Linked DNA regions of Homo sapiens: regions 1, 3 and 4 are each linked to region 2. The links are contacts of gene promoters, found by promoter capture Hi-C in human tissues and cell types (Jung and others, 2019). All regions are on one chromosome and are shown on one strand. The core of a region is centred on a gene start or on the middle of the fragment in contact, and the rest is flanking DNA. Distances in the headings are between cores, read along the strand shown. Region 1 overlaps CPT2 (carnitine palmitoyltransferase 2). Region 2 holds the start of LRP8 (LDL receptor related protein 8). Region 3 has its middle 26 kb from the start of DMRTB1. Region 4 has its middle 6.2 kb from the start of DMRTB1.

Evidence for each region. Contacts are between HindIII fragments. The study calls those that stand out against the background at their distance.
Region 1: a contact is called between a fragment that was not itself captured here and the fragment with the promoter of LRP8 in region 2, in 2 of the 25 tissues and cell types used here (H1 embryonic stem cells and aorta).
Region 3: a contact is called between a fragment that was not itself captured here and the fragment with the promoter of LRP8 in region 2, in 6 of the 25 tissues and cell types used here (H1 embryonic stem cells, IMR-90 fibroblasts, bladder and 3 more).
Region 4: a contact is called between a fragment that was not itself captured here and the fragment with the promoter of LRP8 in region 2, in 5 of the 25 tissues and cell types used here (H1 embryonic stem cells, IMR-90 fibroblasts, mesendoderm cells and 2 more).

The regions. Positions count from the first base shown.
Region 1 is chr1:53,213,733-53,216,670 of GRCh38, reverse strand. It overlaps CPT2 (carnitine palmitoyltransferase 2), which reads right to left. Exons shown (of 5, transcript NM_000098.3): 5 at 2,474-2,938. CZIB (CXXC motif containing zinc binding protein) reads left to right here. Exons shown (of 8, transcript NM_017887.3): 7 at 615-680; 8 at 1,935-2,572. The coding sequence ends at 2,012. Among named protein-coding and RNA genes, the nearest start is that of CZIB-DT, 5.2 kb to the left of the region's middle. The HindIII fragment of the contact is 7,476 bases long and covers 1-2,938 here.
Region 2 is chr1:53,326,820-53,329,519 of GRCh38, reverse strand. LRP8 (LDL receptor related protein 8) reads left to right here and starts at 1,450. Exons shown (of 19, transcript NM_004631.5): 1 at 1,450-1,731; 2 at 2,528-2,647. The coding sequence starts at 1,608. LRP8-DT (LRP8 divergent transcript) reads right to left here and starts at 1,287. Exons shown (of 3, transcript NR_131923.1): 1 at 1,145-1,287. RefSeq lists enhancers at 1,014-1,243, 2,294-2,403 and silencers at 1,314-1,513, 1,584-1,733, 1,784-1,953, 2,469-2,700. The HindIII fragment of the contact is 17,458 bases long and covers 1-2,700 here.
Region 3 is chr1:53,431,859-53,434,558 of GRCh38, reverse strand. No RefSeq gene overlaps it. Among named protein-coding and RNA genes, the nearest start is that of DMRTB1, 26 kb to the left of the region's middle. The HindIII fragment of the contact is 3,885 bases long and covers 1-2,700 here.
Region 4 is chr1:53,451,816-53,454,515 of GRCh38, reverse strand. No RefSeq gene overlaps it. Among named protein-coding and RNA genes, the nearest start is that of DMRTB1, 6.2 kb to the left of the region's middle. The HindIII fragment of the contact is 6,261 bases long and covers 1-2,700 here.

The DNA.
Region 1 (2,938 bases), core at 191-2,690, 110 kb after region 2:
CGGTAGTAATAATTGTCCCTTAAGTGGCTGCTGTATGCTTGGGCACCCATGCCATCATTTTTACATGTTACCACATTTAATTCTTATGGTAACCCTATGAATTTATTCATCCTGTTCTTCAGATGAGGAAGGAACTGAAGAGATTTTGCAACTTGCTCAGGGTCACACAGTAAGCAGTGGAGCTATAGTTTCAACCCAGATCTATCTGACTTGAGCTGGTGCTCATCCCCCTTTATTTGTGCATGTTTCACCTCACAACAAATCTGTGAGGTAGGCAGAAGAGCAAATACTTCATCCCCGTTTTATCAATAACTAAGGTCCAACCTGGGAAATGACATGCCCAGGAGCCTTCAGCAAACCAGGGCTAGTGGAAGGGATTACGCTGCCCCTGCTGCCTTCTGGTCCAAGGCTGTAATTCAGAGAAACCACCACTCTAGTTCTGAGGCAGCTGCCGGGTCCTGGAAGCTCAGCAGTTATTCCAAGACAGGTACTCATACTGCATCTCTGTCCTCCATCCCAGAAGTGTGAGAAGAGCCAGCAGCCTGGCCGGCCCTTACTTATAGCCCAATGCCTTCTTTTGCCAAGACTAACTGGTACCTTCTTGTGCCCTGCAGGCTGGGTTTGCTGCTGAAGGTGTGGAGTCAGGGACAGCCTTCAGTGACATTAATCTGCAGGAGAAGGTATGAGACTTGGGGGCTTTGGGAGGTACTGTAGGGCACCTGGTGGGAATTATTTTTTTGGTGGACAAGGCTCATCAATGGAAAGCCAACTCTGTATTTTTGTGCTTTTTGTTAGTGATTTTGCTGTTGAAATGGCCACAGGTATAGTGCTAAAGTGCTTTCTAATGTTCCTACGTATGAGAAAGCTATGATGCCCCTTACAGAGAGAATACGTGTTAGATAAGCTTTATTCAGGCATGAGCTATAGTGCTGCTGGCTGTGAGTTCATGAATCAACAATATATATTAAATAAGTTATCTTTAAACAGAAACACATAAAGCTAGATTATTGATTGGTTGATGAAAATGTGACCAGAGGCTCATAGGAACCTAACCCTGTATTTCCCCGGGGAGTATTCATTCAGTATTCCCTAATTCAGTGTTTGTGGTGGCTTTACTGCACCTAACTACCATGAAGAACAAGAAATAGTCTGTATTACTGGACATATTACTACCCTGCAGATAGAAAAGCCTTGTGCTCAAGCCTTGAAGGAAGGACAAAAACTTCATTTCATTTGCTCAGCACCTAATAACAGCAGCTAGCATCTACTGAGCTCTTACATGTGCCAGGCACTCACTATGCTGAGTGCTTTTATTTTATTTTATGTATTTTTTGAGACAATCTCACTCTGTCGCCCAGGCTGGAGTGCAGTGGTGCAATGTCAGCTCACTGCAACCTCTGCCTCCTGGGCTCAAGTGATCCTCCTACCTCAGCCTCCCAAGTAGCTGGGATTACAGGCGCCTGCCACCATTCCTGGCTATTTTTTGTATTTTTAGTAGAGACCGGGTTTCACCTTGTTGGCCAGGATGGTCTCGGACCCCTGACCTGAAATGATCCACCTGCCTTGGCCTCCCAAAGTGCTGGGATTACAGGCATGAGCCACCACGCCCGGCTGCTGAGTGCTTTTAAATGTGTTACCTCATTTGATTCTTTCAACATTCAATATGAACTCCATTGTCCTTTTTTTGTTTTTGTTTTTTTTAAATAGAAGACAGGACTCGGAGAAGGGACTCAGAGAAGTTAAGTGATTTGCCCACAGTCATACAACTGAAAGAGCTAGAATTCAGGCCTGAGCTATCTGGCTCTGTTCAGGGTCATACATGTTCATGATTATTTGAGTCAGAGCCTGAGCTGGGCCTTTTAAGTCCCAGTTTTCTGCTCTCCACATGGCTGCATTCTGCGTTGTGAGGCTAACAATGCCATTTTGTTTCCCAGGACTGGACTGACTATGATGAAAAGGCCCAGGAGTCTGTGGGAATCTATGAGGTCACCCACCAGTTTGTGAAGTGCTGATCCCTCTTCCTTCCCAGTTGCCCTTAAGAACTGAGAAAGGACAAAGTACTCTAAGCAGCAGAGCCCACAGAGGCTCGTTCCTTTGACCCTTGTCTCCTGGTGGCTATACGAAACCTTCACAATCTGCATGCTGGACTTTATTACAGCTTCCCAAGCCCCATCAATAAAGCCCCTGTTCACGCTGCACTGGTGCATGAAGGTGAAGTAAGGAGGCAGCTACTCCCTCCACAAATAAGAATTCGTGCAGCAGCAGTTCACTCCTTAGGAAAATGAAGAGTATTTTTAAGGAGATGGTATCTCCCCAGTCAAGGGCAAGTTTACAGAGATGAAACCGCGATCCCACCATCACTCAATGAGCCAGAAGCCAATGGTGACGTACTGTTACCTGAACTTACTGAACTTGCTGTTGGAAAGATCTTTGTGAGGATTAGGAATTAGGTTAAAAGAAATTAAGAACCATCTTCAAGCAAAAATTAAACTTTATTTCTGCTTAAACAATAAATACACCTGAGTTAGTTTTCCAAACCTTTCCTCCTGATTAAATGCCCTTAAAACTTAAATCTCTTGTTATCTTCAGTTGTGATCTAGTCCCAAGTGGAAATTACGTTTAGCTTTAAAACCATGAATTTAAAGCTCAAGCCTGTAGCTGGCTGCCTAGGCAGCTTATGATTAGTTTCACAGAATAGCACCCACTGGCTACACAGGCCCCAGTTTTTTTTTCTTTTTTGTTTTTTTGAGACAGTCTCGCTCTGTCGCCCAGGCCGGAGTGCAGTGGTGTGATCTCAGCTCACTGCAACCTCCACCTCCTGGGTTCAAGCAATTCTGCTTCAACCTCCCAAGTAGCTGGGATTATAGGCACATGCCACCACACCCAGCTAATTTTTGTATTTTTAGTAGAGACAAGGTTTCACCATGTTGGCCAGGTT
Region 2 (2,700 bases), core at 201-2,700:
GCACATATAGGTGAAAGGACGCCTGCATTTCGTTGTCTGTGTGCTAATGGTCTGTCTCCCCACAGGTCAGGGACCTCTCCGGGGCTGGCACCATGCCTGATTCACCTTGGTACCCGCAGGCCCAGCACAGGGTTGGCACAGAACAGGGCCTGAAATGCTTGCTGAATGACTGAATGAACAAGGGACAGGAGGGGTGATGATGGCAGGAGCACCGTGCCGGGCTCTCTGGGGATCTAAGTCCCTTTCTGGTGGGGTGGCCACAGATATTGCCGCTGGGCTGCCCTTTGGGGGACTACGGCTCAGGAGGCTGCTGAGGAGACAGGGTGGTTTCCAGGCCAAGGGCTAACAGCACCTGCCCATCCGCGAGGGAGGTGAAGGGGCAAGAGGGGAGGGAGGGTGGACCTAACACTGGCTCTTGGCACCTGCAGGCCGGTTGTTTTGAGTGGCCAATGCCCTGGAATCTCATTCTCTAAAGAAGGTTGTGTGGGTTGGACCCGGCTCACAAGTCTGAGGCTGAAATCGAATCCCAGCTCGCTCTCCGCACCCATTCTCCCCAGTGTGGGTGAGGCGGGCTGCAGCCCTCCAGAGGAAGAGGTGCCTTCTCCTTCCTGCAGAAGACAGCAGGGGCGGACAGCGCGGGCCTAGGTGCGCGGCCCCTAGCGGCAGGGATGGCATCCCTTCCGTGCCCTCCCCTTCCCCCCCGCCCGGCCCGCCCCACAGACCTCGTCTTTCTCCATCACAGCGAGGATTCCTTGTCTTCCCTGCGGGCCCCCCCTGGTTGCCCCTCTGACTAGGGGCCTGGAGCGTACTTAACGACGATGAATAGTCTGTGCACCAGGCCCAATCCACCTGCCTCACGTCCCCATGATCACATGAGCGTGCAACATGCACAGATGCACATGGCACGGAAACCAAACCAGCCACAGGGATTTATAATATCCCAGCCGGAGCCCATGACAGGTGCAGGGGTCCAGCCCTGCGCCCCCAGCTTCTCCCTGCTCATCCACATCTTGGGATCTCACCCCTATCCCTCCCTCCCCCGCCCCACGCGCACACTGCACAGGCCTGTTCGTCCTGTAACATCATTTCCCCTCCCGCCCAGGCTCACTCCTAGACATCCCTCAGCCTCTGATCCGCCTGTCACCTCCTCCAGGAAGCCTCTGCTGCTTCCTCTGGACCTGCTACCTCCGTGGTGAGGGGCTCGCCTGGCCCATCCCTGCGTCTGCAGAGCCCAGCACTCAGGCGAGCCCAGAGCAGGGCCGTGGAGCGCCCGCTGAGAGAAGAGTGGACGAAAGACAGGAGGGAGGAGGGCGAGGAGGCGGCGGCAGGGGGAGCGTGGGGCGGAGGCGGCAGCGGGAGGGAGCGCGCGCGCTGGCGGCGGCCGCCCAGGGCCGGGGCCGCGCGCCCAGCCTGAGCCCGCCCCGCCGCCGAGCGTCACCGAACCTGCTTGAAATGCAGCCGAGGAGCCGGGGCGGGCGGCAGCGGCGGCGGCGGCGGCGGCGGGGGCAGCGGCAACCCCGGCGCCGCGGCAAGGACTCGGAGGGCTGAGACGCGGCGGCGGCGGCGCGGGGAGCGCGGGGCGCGGCGGCCGGAGCCCCGGGCCCGCCATGGGCCTCCCCGAGCCGGGCCCTCTCCGGCTTCTGGCGCTGCTGCTGCTGCTGCTGCTGCTGCTGCTGCTGCAGCTCCAGCATCTTGCGGCGGCAGCGGCTGATCCGCTGCTCGGCGGCCAAGGTGCGTGCAGCCGGTCTCTGACTCGGCTCTGCTCCGCCCTAGCCACCAACAAAGCGCGGCCGGGAGGCCGGAGCGGGGAGGGGTCCAGAACCCGGGGCTATCGGGGGCTCCCGGGCGGACAGGCTCCACGCGAAGCGGCTATTCCTGAATTTGCCCTCGGCCCCCCGCCCCCGCGGGCCTCGGTGTTGAGGGCTCTGCCCTCTGGGCAGCGGATCTTGGGGGAGGGGTGCAGGGGGGCTTGGCCAGCGGGGAACTTTGCCGGAGGGGCGGCCATTCATGGTTCCGGATGAGCTGTGTGATTCTCGCCGTTGGGGTTTATTTGACACGCGCGCTCCGCGGCGGTAATGAGCAGAGCCGGGCGGCTTCTCCGCTTGACAATGCGTTTCCGCAGACCCCTGCGCGCGGCGGAGAGAGAGGGGGCTGCCTGCCAGGGTGATGTGCCTGCGGCTCCCACTGCGCCTGGCGCGCGGGCGCGGGGACTCCCTATGGGCTGTATCTGAGCAGATCTCTGACTATGGGTCGCGTGTGCGGGTGAGTGCGTCTGAATGGAGGGTATACCCAGGTCGTGTGACACTTTAAGTAGGTGCCTGGTCTCGCCGTGCCACCGAGCGGCCCGACATCCACGGAACCCCTGCCATCGTGCCCTCCCTTTGGATGGAGTGTGCCTGAAGCCCCCGGGGTCTCCATAATCGCCCCCTTTCCTCCTCCCCAGCGGGTCCTTCCGGGTGGCCCGGACTGCATGGTGGGGAGTGGGGCCGAGTCCGCTGATCCAGCTCACGCTCCCTCCCCCTCGCAGGGCCGGCCAAGGATTGCGAAAAGGACCAATTCCAGTGCCGGAACGAGCGCTGCATCCCCTCTGTGTGGAGATGCGACGAGGACGATGACTGCTTAGACCACAGCGACGAGGACGACTGCCGTGAGTGGCGGGCCAGGGAGCTCAGACCCGGGGAGAGAAAAGGAACGGTGGGG
Region 3 (2,700 bases), core at 6-2,505, 110 kb before region 2:
GGGCATTCCTTGGCCCAGTGGCCAGATTTCTGGCACTTGAAGCAAGATCCTGGGGGAGGAGGTCCTGGAGGAATGCCTGGCTGCTATGGTTTAGGTTTTTGAAGTTCTTGTGTGCTGGAAATGTGGCTGGGGTTTGTCTTACAGTGGAGGCAAGGAATTGCAACTCAGAAATACGTGGCCACTTGGCTGCCTCTATTATTGTACACCTTGAAGGCGAGGTTAATTAAGTCCTGTTGTGGGGTTTGAGGGCCAGAATCTTAATTTTTGGAGCTTTTTCTAATGTCAGGAGTGGATTGGGTAATAAAATGCATATTGAGAATAAGACGGCCTTCTGGCCCCTCTGTGTCTAGGGCAGTAAAGCGTCTAAGGGTTGTTGCCAAATGGGCCATGAACTGGGCTGGGTTTTTATACTTGATGAAAAAGAGCCTAAACGCTAACTGATTTGGGAGAGGTTGGCTAAAGAAAAAGGAGCATTAACCTTGACTATGCCTTCAGCTCCAGCCACTTCTCTAAGAGGAAATTGTTGGGCAGGTGGGGGAGGGCAAGTTGTGGAACAAAATTGTAAGCCAGACTGGGTATGAGGAGGGGAGGTGATAGAAGGATTACAGGGTGGGGGAGTGGAGGCTGAGGAAGAATTGGGACCTGGCTCGGCCTGGCGAGGAGCAGCCTGGGGTGGAGGGGAGAGGTTAGGTGGGTCTGTAGAAAAGGAAGATTCAAAGGACTCAGAGCTTGGGGTGGAGACTGAAGGAACAGACGGGAGAAAAACAAGAAAGATTTGGGACAGTCACATTGGGAGCAGAGACTAGGGAGGGACCAATGTATAAAAGAATGCCTGGATATCAGGCACCTCAGACCATTTGCCCATTTTTTGAAAAAAATTATCTAGATCTTGTAGGATGGAGAAAATCGAAAGTGCCATTTTCTGACTATGTGGAGCCATTACCAAGTTTGTATTGGGGCCAAGCAGTGTTGCAGAAGAAAATAAGACGCTTAGGTTTTAGATCAGGTGGGAGTTGAAGAGGTTTTAAGTTTTTTAGAACAAAGGCCAAGGGAGAAGAAGGAGGAATGGAGGGCAGAAGGTTGCCCATAGTAAAAGGGTAAGTTTAGAGAAAAGAGAGGGTAGAGACACAGAGGGCGGGGGGTGGTACTTGCCACCAAGGTGAAGGATCAAGGCAGGCATCCCCATGGTGATCAGACACCTCTGAAATGTGGGTGAATAATCAGGCAGGCGTCCCCGCAGTGATTAAACACCAAGGGAAGACTGTCTTCCCGAGTCTGTGACCAGCGCTGGAGTTTTGAGTTCACAGATAAAATGCATCTCCTCTGTCTCTACCAGAAAGGGGAAAAGGAACCAAAATTAAGGAAGGGAGAGATTGAAGGGTGGAGGGATAGTGAGAGAGGTTGGAGAAGGGAGTGAAACGACCGCTTACCCGATCTGAAATTGGTGAGATGTTCCTTGGGCTGGTTGGTCTGAGGACCTGAGGTCATAGGTAGATCTCCTCACCGAGTGAGGGCAAGGATGGGGGACTGGTCTCTCGAAGGAGTCCTCCTGTCCTGGGTCTTCAGCACAAAATGTCAAGTGCATCCGTGTGAAGAGAGTCCACCAACAGGATTTGTGTGAGCAATAAAGCTTTTTAATCACCTGGTGCAGGTGGGCTGAGTCTGAAAAAGGAGTCAGCCCGCCTGCACCCTGGTGATTAAAAAGCTTTATTGTTCACACAAAGCCTGTTGTGGACTCTCTTCACATGGACACGCTTGACAATCACAATTCTTGTTTCTCTATAAAACTAAGACTCAGATGCTAGATAACTTGCTCAAAGTCATGTAGCTAATGAGTGATATAGTCTGAATCAAAGTCCACATGTTCTTCATTACTCCAGCTCAGCACCTTGATAGAACCAATGACTATCATTTTCTTAAATTGTTTTTTATAGTACCTTGAAATTATTTCTTAAAAAAATTTCAGGCTGGGTGCAGTGGTGCCGGCTTGTAATCCCTGCACTTTGCAAGCCTGAGGCAGATAGATCACTGGAGCCCAGGAGTTTGAGACCATCTTGGGCAACATGGCAAAACCCTGTCTCTACCAAAAAAAAAAAAAAAAAAAAAAAAAATTAGCCAGGCATCGTGGTGCACGGCTGTAGTCCCAGTTACTCAGAAGGCTGAGGTGGCTGACGTGGGAGGATCCCCCATCTCAAAAAAAAAAATTCTATTTATATGTACTGTAAAGCTTTCCTCATTTTGTACCAATGAGGAGTTTGCAGTGTGTCTCAATTGTGGAAAACCTATGGCAAAATTGTCTAGAAATAAACTGCAAAATAGTCAATATTTAATTTAATATTTAAGTCATTTGCTCACCAGGTCAGTGCCTCAGTTCTAACTTGAAGGGACTGATCATAAATGCAGCACTTTTGCTTGTGTGTGTGTGTGTGTGTGTGTGTGTGGTATTGCAGCTTCAACGAGAGGCTTTATCACAATTTTTTCCTCTAATCTTAGTTCCTACAGCTAAGGAAGTGGTATCAGGCTATTTATCTTTTCCTCCAGGTGGTGATTAAAGTAGCTTTCTCAAGTATATGAAATTAATTTCATGATAGCTGTAATCTCATCCATTGATCTGTCCTTTGAGAAGTGAATAAAGGAAGTAGGTAAAATCTTGAAAAGCAAAGGTCATATTTACATGTTAATACCACATGATAAAGATGA
Region 4 (2,700 bases), core at 114-2,613, 130 kb before region 2:
CCCTGCTTAGCTGCTTTTCTCTATCCATGGTCAATATTTATTGAGTGCCAACCATGTGCTAAGCATAAGGCATGCAGAAGTTAAGTAAAAAGACAGGATCCTTGCCTTTAGGCCTACATTCTAGCTGGCAATCCAATTACTTGGTGAACAAGTAATTCCAGAGTAATAAAAGTCAGGTTTTCAGAACCCATATGGAATCCTAAACTGGCTTGAGAAATCAAAAAGACTTCCCTGAGGGGCTGATTTCTAAGCTGATGCCTAAAGGGTTAGTAGCCAGCCACAAAAGCAGAAGTGTGTCCCACATGCTCAGTGGCCTACAGTGTGGCTGTAGTGCAGCAAGGTTGAGACACTGGCGAGAAATGAGGTGGAAAAGTAAGTTGCAGCCAGGCTGTGGAAGGAGTCCTTGAGGGAAATTGACCAAGGAGAAGAGGAAATCACACGGCAGAGCCAGGCAAAACAGTAAGTAATAAGCACTCGTGCAGGTATTGCAAGATTCAAATAGAGTTGAGTGGGGTTTTCCTTGAGGTGGTTGTTCCAGGTGGGGCACACATTTGAGGCTAGCCATGGCCCAAACTAGCACTGGGCCAGACAGGGTTGCTCCTTCTAACCCTGGGACACCATTAACAGATTCATCTGACCTCTCCTAGGAATCTTAGAGAAGCGAGGCACAAAATAGTAATGGATGGAAGACAAAGGAGTGAGAGAAAAGAAGAGCATGAGGCAGTCAAACAGACCAAAGCTGTTGGAGAGGCTGTGAAGATTAAGACTGGAACAAGCAATTCTGTGGAGCAAAGGAAAAGTACACCATCCTGGCGGAGAGGGCATGCTCCAAGTGCTACTCTTCAACCCAATAGTACTGACCTTTGTTCTGTCTTGTTTTTACTTGCTAATTGGATGAACAAACATTTTTTGACACCCACAGAAACTTTCTTCCCTCCCTTCCTTCCTTCTTCTTCTTTTTTTTTTTTTTTTTTTTTTTTTTTTGCAGCAGGGTCTCACTCTATTACCTAGGCTGGAGTGCAGTGGCGCGAGCATAGCTCACTACACCCTCAAACTCCCAGCTCAAGTAATCCTCCCGCCTTGGCCTCCCAAAGTGCTGGGATTATAGGCATGAGCCACTGTGCTCAGCCCACAGAAACTTTCATAATATGTATATGTAGCTGATTACATGTATTTTTGATAGTACTATCAAATTTCTATAAATTTCAATTTTTTTTTTCTGAAAATACGAGAGGCACACGTCCCTATAAACTACATTGCTAATAGGGAATAATATAACCTTTAATATCTCTGTCCTGTGGTAAAATGCAAACTCAATTTAACACAAGAGGCATGAATTGAATGCCTACCATATACAAGGTACTGTTCTCTGGTAAAAGCAGTCAAAAAGAGCAAAGGAAAAAGAAAATTAAATTGAATCTTCTTTTTTCTGTGTATGTTCCTTGTCTAATTTCTTAGAAAACAGTAACTATTTATCGAAAAACAAAAAACCAGCATCTTTTTCCTGAGTTATGCTTCTATGAGAAAGGCAAACAGATATCAATAATTTATCTTTCGAGTAACCTTTCTAAACATTTTATGTCAGAGAGTCAGTACAAGTTCGGTCCATTTTGTAACTGAAAACAGATGGCAAGTAATACTATAAAGACAGGCAAGCTGGGTGAGAACATGATCATTAGTTATTAGCTGTGTTAACCTTAGCTAAATTATTTAACTTCTTTGAGCCTCAGTTGCAATAGTAATATTTGTAAAACGTGTTGCAAATCCCAAAGTGTGGCACAATATCCCATTTAGTGATATTGTTATTTAATGAATGCTTACAACTTTGCAGACATGGCCTCATTTAAACCACAGAACAACATGTATAAGGTAGGTAATTTTATTGTGTCCATTTGACAAATAACATTGAAGCTTAAAGTTCAGAAATATTCTTACCCAAGGTACATAGGAAGTGACAGAAACACATGTGAATAGCCTCCAAGTCTGAACTCCTAAGTACTATGCCATATTGCCACCATTTAGTTATTTCCTTTACTTTAACTACAAGGTGAGATGCCTGACTCTTGTAGGATTGATGAGATAATACATTTGAATAGCCCAGCACAGGTCTGGTATCTGGCACATGGTTAGCATGCATTACATAGTATCAAGGAGGAAGAAGGGACAAAGGGAAGGGGGGTGAGAGATAAGTAGTATTTCTGACTGACTCCAAGCCACCTCCAATCACAGGATTTGATTTAGCTACACAGTGGCATCAGGCTCTCCAAGCATACATTAAACACCAGCTGTCCAATACTATACCTATTATTTACTGTGGCTATTGAGCACTTAAAATGTGCCCAGTTAAATTTAAGATGTTCTGAAAGTATAAAATACACACCAGATTTTAATGACATAGTATGAAGAAAAGAATGCAAAATATCTCAATAATTTTATATATATTATATATTGAAATAATATTTTGGATATATTGAAGTAATATTTTGGATATATTGAATTAAATAATATTTTGATGTGGCTTTTTACTCTTTTAATGTTGCTACCAGAAAATCTTAAATTATATGTATGATCTTTCATTATATTTCTATTGGGCAGCAGTGCACAAGAGATTTGTGTGCTCAGTCCTTCTACTTCTGAAGACCAAGTTTTCCACAGTAGCTTATGTTCAAGGTGTTACATCATCTTCAGGTAGAGTGTACC